Regions from separate parts of the Homo sapiens genome. Here region 1 is linked to region 2. The links are contacts of gene promoters, found by promoter capture Hi-C in blood cells and fetal thymus (Javierre and others, 2016). All regions are on one chromosome and are shown on one strand. Each heading gives the region's core, a stretch centred on a gene start or on the middle of the fragment in contact. The rest is flanking DNA. Distances are from core to core; before and after follow the strand shown.

Region 1 (5,760 bases), core at 710-3,209, 260 kb after region 2:
TCCTAAAATTAGTCCCATGTCAAAAAAGAAATGCATCATAGCTGAGAAAGGAAGGAAGTGGACGAGTAACGAGAAGACAATGTGCAAAGAATGTTTAATGTGGTTTATTTCAGCATGATCTGTTTCCTATATTTGATTTCACTCCTCCATTAGCTTAGGTTGTTTTATTCCTCGTGGTAGGGTTGAGGGAGCACTACAGGTGTCAAGTAGAACATTCTCTGCTGCTAGATCATACATGGCTATAAGAACTGTTGAGTCAAAGTGCTCCTTTTCCCATACTATATTGTAGGGCATATATATATATATTTTATTTCCCAGAGTATCCGTCCTTTTTTTTTTTTAGAGACAAGGTCTCGCTCTGTTGCCCAGGCCCAGGCTGGACTGCAGTAGCGCAATCATGGCTTACTGCAGCCTCAAACTCTTGGGCTCAGGCAATCCTCTTGCTTCAGTCTCCCAAGTAGCTGGAACTACAGGTGTGCATCACTGTGCCTAGCTAATTTTTATTTTTATTTTTTATAGAGACAGGGTCTTGCTCTGTTGTCTATGCTGGTGTCTAACTCTTGGGCTCAAGTGATCCTCCCATCTCAGCCTACCAGAGTGCTGGGATTACAGGCATGAGCCACCACACCTGGCCATATCAGTCTCTTTCTTACTTGAAATCAATTACTCCTTTAATGCTTTATAGTATTCTAATATATTTTTATGCTGCTCCTTCTTACCTATGAGCTTGGAGCTTACTTCCCCAGTTTGGCATACCGGAACTCATATTGCCCTATAAACATTACATTTAAAAAAAGAAAGAGAAATGTCAAAGTTTCATTTAGTGGCAAAACTATGGAGAAGCAAGACAAGCAAATGTCATTAAGACTCAGGAGAAAGGAAAGTAAATGTGGCCAGGAGGAGCTGAGTATTCAGCCCTCAAAACATTGCTTACTATACCCTATCTACTGTGCATATGTGTGTATATATGTGTGAGTGAGAGAGTGGGAAAAGAGCATGGTGGTAGTGAAAAGAATAACGAGTGTATTTTTCTTCACTTTGCCCCATGTATAAAATAGCTAAATATGATTCTGGTACACATATTTACATTATAAGGGTCCAATTCCTATTTTATCGGGTAATGTGACGAGATGAAACCGGTTAATGGGAGTAAGAAACTTAGGCCAATTATGTTATGACTTTGACCGTATAAACATTTGACTGGAGTTAGACACTGGCATTGAGTTAGAACCCATTGTGAATCTACGGCAATTAATTAAAAGACCATTCCAGCTACCCTCAGGAGCTTATACTCTAATGAACAAGACATGCTGAATAAAAACAGTAAAAAGATAACTACAAGCCCCAAGTACTAGGAACATAAAATTATGTACATGACCAGCCTCCATTACAGCTGAACAAAGATGGATACATTAAGGATTAAGGACTAATTAATCAAAGAGGGTTTTTTGTTTTTTGTTTTTTCCCCAGGACAGAGTCTTGCTCTGTCACCCAGGCTGGAGTGCAGTGGCACAATCTCGGCTCACTGCAACCTCTGCCTCCTGGATTCAAGCAATTCTCTTGCCTCAGCCTCCTGAGTAGCCGGGGTTACAGGCGCCCGCCACAGGCCCAGCTGATTTTTGTATTTTTAGCACAGACGGGGTTTCACCATGTTGACCAGGCTGGTCTCCAACTCCTGACCTCATGATCTGCCCGCCTCGGCCTCCCAAAGTGTTGGGATTACAGGCATGAGCCACCGCACCCAGCCAATCACAGAGGGTTGTTCACACACACACACACACACACACACACACTCTAACATCCTAACTCTAGAATGCTTAAAACTAGAGAGAATGCTTGCATAGAGATAATAATTTTGAAGAGAATTCCAGAGGGAAGGAGAAATGGAGTTTGAGGAAAAGGATTAGGATTCTGGTGATAGACATCTAAATAATCCAATGGACTGGAAGCTCCACAAGGGCAGGAACTCTGACAGTCTTGTTTATTGCTTGTCCCCAGTTCCTAGTGCAATGTCTTGCATGTAATGAGCACTTCAACATGCTTATGAATAAATGAAAGGGAAGGGAAGGAGAGGGCCAGTTTGAAGGTGACAAATTAATATTTTTTTTAAGAACACAGTAATTGCCAGGCACGGTGGCTCACGCCTGTAATCCCAGCACTTTGGGAGGCCAAGGTGGGCGGATCATCTGAGGTCAGGAGTTTGAGACCAGCCTGATCAACATGGAGAAACCCCATCTTCACTAAAGATACAAAATTAGCTGGGCATGGTGCTGTGAGCCTGTAATCCCAGCTACTCGGGAGGCTGAGCTACTCGGGAAGAATAGCTTGAACCCGGAAGGTGGAGGTTGCAGTGAGTCAAGATCACACCATTGCACTCCAGCCTGGGCAACAAAGAGTGAAACTCTGCCTAAAAAAAAAAAAAAAAAAAAAAAAACAACAGTAATTAAACTTTCCTTAAAGAAGAGAGTATGATGAGCTCAGAGAAAGGGGACCTTTCCGTATAAGGAACATGAGACTGACTGGCTGGACGCAGTAGCTCACACCTGTAATCCCAATACCTTGGGAGGCCAAGGAGGGTGGATCACCTGATGCCAGGAGTTCAAGACCAACCTGGCCAACATAGTGAAACCCCATCTCTACTAAAAATACAAAAATTAGGCGTGGTGGTGGGCACCTGTACTCCTAGCTCCTCAGGGGGCTGAGGCAGGAGAATCCCTTGAACCCCAGACGTGGAATTTGCAGTGAACCGAAAATCGTTCCACTGCACTTCAGCCTAGACAACAGAGCAAGACTCTATCTCGAAAAAAAAAAAAAAGAACATGAGACTGTGAACCACTAATTGCTAATACTGATCATTTATCCCCCCAGATGAAGAGCATGATCTAGAAGAGGATGAGAGTGGCACTCGACGAAAAGGAGGTATAAGAGCTTCTAAATGCACAGGCACTGGGTAGGACATTATGGGCTTCTGATTAGAGAAAGCACCTTTCTCTGAGACTACAAAAATTACTGAACTCAATAATTAAGAGGGTACCTGTGTGTGAACCCCAAAGCCCTAAATAAAGTGACTGGGTAGGGAAATACCTAAACTTTAAAAGCAGCCATACATTCACTTTAATTAATGTTCCCAGAACAGCCAAGATTTATCCTAGAGCGGGTGGGAAGCCAAACCAGACATTTATTTTTTCCTATCAATATTTCTTATATCAGTACAGTGAAAATAGAATTGCCTCATCTCTAAGAGATCAGAGGATTGAGAATGGAAAGAATGGAAATGTCTCCTCTCTGAGAGGCCCGGAGATTGCAAGTTCAGAGGGGAATGGAAATGTGTCAGATCTGAAAAGTGAACACAGGGTGAAAGATAAAATTCCTTGGTGATGCTGACTTCTGATAGCCTGGTTTGATTCCAGGCACATTTGGAAATGAATATGTAACAGGTTTGTTGAATATAAAATTACATCTTATTCATCCCAGACTGTTAACCATGCTTCAGGCTGTTAGTGAGCCCATCCTTTCTAAGGTCAGATGCCCCTCTGAAGCCTCCTTAAGTGGACCAAGGACCTATTCCATGGTTGTCAGTAAAGGAATGCTGCACATTGCAAGGGCCACCTCAAGGACATTCGTTCCGTCGGCAGAGCCCTAATCATGACTGATTTAGATACTGGCTGATATTTTTCTTAGGGAGTCTATGAAAATCTTAAGCCTAGGAATTCTTGCCCTCTTTCCCTCCCTGCTCCTTCTCCATTATCTAGCCCTGTCTTTTCCTATTCTCCTCTCTCCTTTCCTTGTGCTTTTTCTTCTCTCCTTATCCATCCAGCAAAACCCCCATTTCTAGGTTCATTCTCTACAGAAAGTGAATACTTAAAAGGTTCAGGACCCAACTTCCTAAGGGTCCAGCTTCTCCCAGGGAAGAGAAGAGACAACGAAGATGCAGCCTCAGAAGTCATGCGCCAAAGCAGGAGAGAAAGAAAGCAGTGGAGGCGGGTGTGATGCACGGATGTGAGTGTAGCTGCAAGTACCTCATGATAGTGAACACATGTGATTAGGTCCATTCTGAAACCTATTTCCTTCTGTTGTCTACTTACTGTACAGAATTCCAAATGAAAATCTGTTCTGACCCGCCCATGTTCCACATATATCTTTTCTCAACCAACTTCCATCACCAGTGCAGAAAAGAAACACTTCATGTGGACAGCTTGGGTGGAGTAACTGTAAGCTTCCTATGGCCAATTTCATATTAAACTCCATTCAGAAAGCATTGATCTTTTAGCAAAGTCTAGAATCCAGTTTCAGACTCCTCCCTCATCTCATTTCCTCCTTCCACCTCTTTCTCTAAGGTTATATCTGGGAGGTGAGAGGAGATTTATTTCTTAACTGTTCCTACAGCTATAATTCAAGTAGGTTTAAAAAAAAAAAAACCTTTTGTTCCTCATGCTTCCTGCCTCCAAAATAAGTGTTGTTAAAGTATAGCAAGCTCTGAATATGTTTCTATGGTTTACACTTCCCACCAGTTATAATGATTGGTGACTTAGTGATTAAAAAACAGGAGGACTTTTTGCTCTCTCTGCAGAATCTGAGGCAGGAATTTTTATTATTTGTGTTTACTTATTTATCGATTGATTTTATATACTGCCTTTTCTCCAAAGGCGCTATAGAAATGGTGAAAAATACATAAATCCAAATGTCATCATTTAGTTTTGTAACAATAAAAGATAGAGGTCTGGGGGAAGGGCAGGCAGCCCCAGTGAAGGCATTTAAAAGGCAGGGAGCTCTAGGACAGTGTGAATTCCTATGTCATAGACAAGCTACACAAGTTTGGGCTACTTAGTTTTTCTCAGGTGTGTGTTTTTTTGTTTGTTTGTTTGTTTTTTGAGATGAAGTCTCGCTCTGTTGTCCAGGCTGGAGTGCAATGGCGCTATCTCCGCTCACTGCAACCTCTGCCTCCCAGGTTCAAGTGATTCTTCTGCCTCAGCTTCCCGAGTAGCTGGGATCACAGGCACGTGCCACCACGCCTGGCTAATTTTTGTACTTTTAGTAGAGACAGGGTTTCACCATGCTGGCCAGGCTGGTCTGGAACTCCTGACCTCAGGGGATCCGACCGTCTTGGCCTCCCAAAGTGCTGGGATTACAGGCATGAGCCACCACGCCCAGCCTTTTCTCAGGTGTTAACATGCTTTTGGGGAGAAAAATATATATAAGCAAGTTGACCTTTCCCTTCTTCCTTTTTTCCCAAAAGATGCTATGGCTAGCAGAGTTACTTTTAAAATCCAAGTACTTTTCTCCAACCTCGATGGATCCTGTTCCTTGAATGCTGTGCTTTTTTCTCTGATGGAATTGCTAACATTCTGAAGGCCTAACTAGATCTTATCAGAATAGGGGGGAAGGGATTCGGTTCATCCTTATTGAGTGTTAATGACCCTGTAAGATGTAATTTCTTTTATTTCATTCTGTTACCTAGAAAATCTATCACAGCCTTGTAGTATTGATTGCTCAATCTATAAAGAGCTCAGTTTACAGCATGACTGTTAGTAACAGGGTTATTTTAATGAGTGACTCTTCAACACCTCAGAGTTTCACTAAATTCCAACCCATCAGCCCAGTAGTCTAACATTAAGGGTCTTAGGTAATGAGAACTTATCACCTTTCCCTATCATGAAAAGGTAACCTCCAGGTAACCAAAAATAAAACTTCCTCTGTGTTCGTTTTTTATAGAAATTACTGGCCATTTGTTTGCATGTGCTATGTCAAATAAAAAGCAAC
Region 2 (5,277 bases), core at 1,474-3,973:
GGATGCATATAGAATACGTACACTGTGAGTTTTTGGTGTAAGTAAGCTATGACAGGCAGTGAAGCCTGCAAAGAAGTGCAATTACCTGGGTTTACTGCTCTTTATCAAACAATTCATTAGCTGGTAGCTTATATTAGTATGTGACACCATATCCTTGAAGAAGAGGGGGAGGTTATCAAATTTTCTTCTGTTGCCAAGAAGGAAAGCAAGGCAAAGTTTAGGTTGACATATGGGGAGACTTTGCTGCCCTTGCTGTATTTTTTGTGTAACAGTTTAGATTTACCAAAAAAAAATTGAGATGATAGCACAGACAGTTCCCATGTATCTTTCCTTGCTTTTTAGTATGCCTCATAAGTACTTCAAAATGATTCTAGAGCAGCTACAATTTTATAGGTGAAGTGGTGAAGTTGGTAAAAATGCCATGGGGGTACCTGGTACTTGATCCCAAGCCTGAAAGGGGTAGTCTGCCCATTGCTATACTTTCTTTCTTTCTTTCTTTCTTTTTTTTGAGATGGAGTCTTGCCCTGTCACCCAGGCTAGAGTGCAATGGCCTGATCTCGGCTCACTGCAACCTCCGCCCCCCGGGTTCATGTGATTCTCCTGCCTCAGCCACCCGAGTAGCTGGGATTACAGGCGTGCACCACCATGCCCAGCTAATTTTTGTATTATTAGTAGAGACGGGGTTTCACTATATTGGTCAGGCTGACCTCAAACTCCTGACCTCGTGATCCGCCTGCCTTGGCCTCCCAAAGTGCTGGGATTATAGGCGTGAGCCACTGTGCCCAGCCACCCATTACTATACTTTCTCAGGGCAGGAAGGAGGATGAGCAGGAGCCAGATACCCCAGAGAGGCTCATGCCAGCCTCTGTCCCCTCACCCCAATTTACTGCAGCTTGTAGGTGGGTCATGTGACACTGAAACCAATGCACCACTGCTTTTCAGATGGCAGGATGCACTGTACTCCTTAAAGGATCACACCCTCATCTTTGAGGCTGTATCTCTGGATGGGAAACAGTACAAGGAGGCAGGCACTTTTATCACACTCATCCTTCTCGATGGTTTCTTCTTACTGCTCTTGCCCCGTCTGCTAGATTGAGTCCATCATTATTCCCCTTATGGCTGTTGTAAAAACCATTTTACCCACTTCCCCCTGTGTCTTTTCCCACCACTCCTAATCTTTTCTACATATTCTGTAGGTTGAGTCTGAGAATAGAAATGCCATTTTTTACAAAGAAGGAAAAAGGCAGAGGTGGAGATGTGTGAGGCCACATACCACCCCGGAGCTCTGGTTAGGTCATTCCCAATCTCAAAAATTGTCAATGGCTCCCCAGTGCCCTCTCAATTAAGTTCAACATTCCTATTCTGACTTTCAAGTCCCTTCACAGTAGAGCTGCAGTTTATCTTGACAACCATAGTCTTTCTACAACATCCAGTAAAAGAGGGCTACTAACTATTCCTCAAGCTGGTGAGGGCTCTTCCATCTTTCTTTACTCTGGTCCTTCCACCTGGAAAGTCCTCTGCCCCTTCAAAGTCTGGTGTGTTTTTCAGAGCCCATCTCAAACACCACATGCACCTTTAAACACTCACATGCACACTGGCACTTCTTTTTATTTTCTTTCTTTTTTAAGAGACAGGGTCTTGCTCTGTTGCCCAGGCTGGGGTACACTGGGGTGATCATAGTTGGCTGTAACCTCAGATTCCTGGGCTCAAGTGATCCTCCTGCTTCAGCCTCCCAAAGTGCTGTGATTACAGGTGTGAGCCACAATGCCTGGCCTCTTCCCTCCTTTTCTGGTATTCAGCTCCCTTCTTTTATCAACCATAGCACTTTATACTTTTTTCATGGCAGTTGACCTATTGTACTTAAAAAACCTCTTTATTTTGAGAATTATAGATTCACAGAGAGTTTCAGAAATAATAGAGGAACTCTGTCTACCTTTACCCAGTTTCCCCCAAGGGTAACATCTGGCACTATTACAGTACCATGTCACAACCAGGACACTGACACCAACTGTCCCTTGAATGAGACCGTGTGATTTTGTCCTTCACTTTCCTCCCTTCCGCAGCTCCTGGAGGGAAAGGGCTCTGTTCTCCTCTCCCTCAGCTTTCTCCCTGTGTTACCCCTTCCTTTCCTCAGGGCCTTTCCATCCTGAGGGAGAACAGCACAGTTTGGTTTCCTGTGTCCCTTGCTGCCACGCTGCCGCGATTCTCCCAAATGTTGGTGTCCTTATATTGCTTATTGGGAATTAATCATTTCCTTTCAACATTGTGGCTTCCCAAAGAGCGAAGTTTTGCCCTCTTTTCTGGGGATGGAGATGTGAACTGGACCGGCAATTGAGGGGTGCTATGCTTGACGGGGATCTCTTCCTTGGATTCTGCCTCCCTGCACCCTACTTCAGGCACCCCGTGGTCTTTCAAATCTGCCACCGTGAGGTCAACTGTTCGGTGCTTAGGATGGAGTGTCCAAAGCCGTGGGTCCTTTGAGCCTTGTGAAGTCTTTTGTTTTGGTGGGTGCTGGAGGGGCGCACCTTTGGCCTCGCACGGTGCGGTGCTTCCGGCACCCCCAATCCTTCTACCGTGGGGCTCCGGCGTGAGCGCCACGTGCACCCACGCCCCGCGCCCCGTTCCGGTCCCCGCCTGCCGCCCGCGCCACTTCCTGACGCGCCCGGGGACCCACGGCCCCGCCCCGCGGCCGGGCTGGGCGGGCGGCGACCGCGGCTGAGGTACAGGTGCCTCGCGGTGCAGCCGGGTCGCCTTCCAGCCCGTCCGCCTCCCGACCAGGGCCCGCGCCCCGTCCCGCCTCTCTCCCGCCCAGCCAAATGCAGGCCGCCGCCCTCCCTGAGGAGATCCGTTGGCTCCTGGAAGGTAACGCCCTGGCGCAGGCCCCCTCCAGTGCTGAGCCGAAGGCCGAAAGGGGACACCAGGCCTCCCACGGCCAGGCTTTCTTTACGGCTTCGTCACTCACCTCCTTCTAGAACCTTAAGGCTTCTAGAGCCCTCAACTCCCTAGAGCCAGCTTTCCATCCTCTCACCTCAGGGCCCCTTTCACTCCCTGGAGTCCCACATCTTCTTTTGCCTTGAGGCACCTCCACGCCTCCACTTCACCTCCCCGGCTTCTAAAGTCCTCAGGCCAGGTTCTTGGTCCCCCATGCCACCTTGCCTGGTCTCCGACCTGTCCCTTTCTCCAAAGGACTGCCCTACATCTGTAGGGTTTCCCGTCCCCCTCCTTCCCCAGCCACGACTTCCTCACCTCTCACAGAAGACCCCAAACCTTCCTGCTTAGAGGTCCCCGAGGCTCTCCAGGGGGCTGCGAGGGGCTCATGGGATCCCCATGGGCCAAGGCCAGGTGGTTGACGTGAGTTTTTGTCAGTGCGAAAACCCCAGCCCTCCCTTTATCACCCTGCAGACGTCTAGGGGTCTCACCCACCCCAAGGCAGGCTCATTCTCAGTATGGGATTTCCTCCTTTTCTAGAAGTGCCCCCATTGTGGTGTGTTCACCTTCCAACTCCCATTGTGGTGTGTTCACCTTCCAACTACAGTGTCTAAGCGGTGGTTTAAAGAGTTCCGGCCATCCCCGTCAACACTCAACACACACTGCCAACACTCCAAAGAGATGTCACAAAGAGACGTTGCTAACGGGCAGTTTCATCTGCTGGGTTTCGTGGTGGAAGTCACTTTTACTTGCTTTCCTGTAACTAACCTTCCAGGGAGGACAGAGGCCTGGAATCTGCAGTCGCATAAGGCTCCCAGGAGGAAACTATTCAGAATTAAGCCTTTTGGCATCTAAGTTGACATAGTTGACACATATTTAACAGACGGCCTGCTTTGGGCAGGTCATATTTTTGGCAAGCAGTATTTTTTTTCAGTTTCTCTCAATTTAATTGGTTTTATATCTCCATTACCTTGTTATCTCGGTATAAATGCCTCCTAATCAAATATTTGGCAAGTCCTTTTGGTCTCTGTCTGTAGCACTATTTCCATTCTGGATTGCTTCTATGTAAAAGCTGTCAGCTAGATATTTCTTTTGAGGTGAGGTTTCCAAAATCCGTTTTACTTACGATCAGAATAAATCTAAATTTTGGGGGTAGAAAACTATTTGCAGGGTAAAAGAGAATTATCTGGGTGTCTAAGAAGAAACAATCCAGCCTTTCCCTCTGTTGTTGGTTTAATATTAGGCTTGTGAAGGAAGGCTGTAATTGTCTTTGGTTTCTAGGAAAGAAGGGACTGTGGCAAAAAGTTTAACTCTGCCCTTGCATTGAAATATATAAACTGATTCTTTTTATTGGTATCTGTCATTTGATGAGAGGAAACCTATTTTATAAGCTTATTAAACTATACTTCAGTTTTGTGTCTAGGCTTGGTAGAAAATTCCTTTTTATTTTCAGAGGCTTGCAATGAAATCCATTCCTTCAGCATTTTTGATGTGCAGTTCTTCATTGTTCAAAACTGACACTTTGGTAAACAACTCATTTCTGCACCTGCCACCTTCCTTTAGCTTAGATTATTTTCTTGTTAGCTGACTGTTTTTAATTGAAGTCTTCAGATCTCCTTCTAAAGCAGAACCTTTGTTTGCTGACAAGTAGAGCGGGGTATGAATGGAGATTAATTGCATGTCGCATACTTCTGTATCAAGCTTGCTGTATCTTAACAATCTCTGTTGGTGCTCAGGTCTTTAAAATATATGGAGGAGTCTGAAACCAAATTATAAGGAGCTTCGTTGGTTAATGTATTTCTTTAAGGCTTTTTTTTTTAAGTTTGCAATTAGAACTTGAATCTGAAGTAGAGAAAAAAATGTAAAGTGTGATTCATCCAGTAATTCTATTGAAAAATGTTTGAAGATATGTTTTTTAAAGGTTCCTGTAATAATAATAGCAATATATTGGTTACAAGTTTTATTTCTTTTGGAACACAGTCGCTGGTGTAGACCAGGAGGATTATTCATTGTGTTACAAATAATCTGTCCATATTAGAAACCCAAAATGGCCATCAATTTGTTGTTTGTTGCTATTTGTCTCCCCCACCACACACTTTTTAAGGTTAACTGTTGACAATTAGAAAAAATGGAGGTCCTGATCTCTATATAGTCACTCTGTGGGAGGGAGTCACAGGATGTGAGGGCTGCAACTCTAGTGCTGCCACATGGCTGTGGGGGTGGGGTTTCCACAATGAATTACTACTTTCATAAACCAAGGCATAAGCATTTGCACAGTGATTTAACACTGGACATCACAGCCATAACTTAAGCATTTATTTATTTATAACTACACAAGCATAAATGACA

What was found. Contacts are between HindIII fragments. The CHiCAGO score rates a contact against its expected background, and 5 or more counts as called.
Region 1: a fragment that was not itself captured here is called in contact with the fragment with the promoter of SKAP1 in region 2 in 1 of 17 cell types (endothelial precursors); the score reaches 5.9 in endothelial precursors.

Annotation. Positions count from the first base shown.
Region 1 is chr17:48,167,768-48,173,527 of GRCh38, reverse strand. It overlaps SKAP1 (src kinase associated phosphoprotein 1), which reads left to right. Exons shown (of 13, transcript NM_003726.4): 10 at 2,869-2,919. Among named protein-coding and RNA genes, the nearest start is that of MIR1203, 14 kb to the right of the region's middle. The HindIII fragment of the contact is 4,519 bases long and covers 1-4,218 here.
Region 2 is chr17:48,427,660-48,432,936 of GRCh38, reverse strand. SKAP1 (src kinase associated phosphoprotein 1) reads left to right here and starts at 2,723. Exons shown (of 13, transcript NM_003726.4): 1 at 2,723-2,862. The coding sequence starts at 2,817. RefSeq lists a silencer at 2,550-2,809. The HindIII fragment of the contact is 9,425 bases long and covers 1-4,321 here.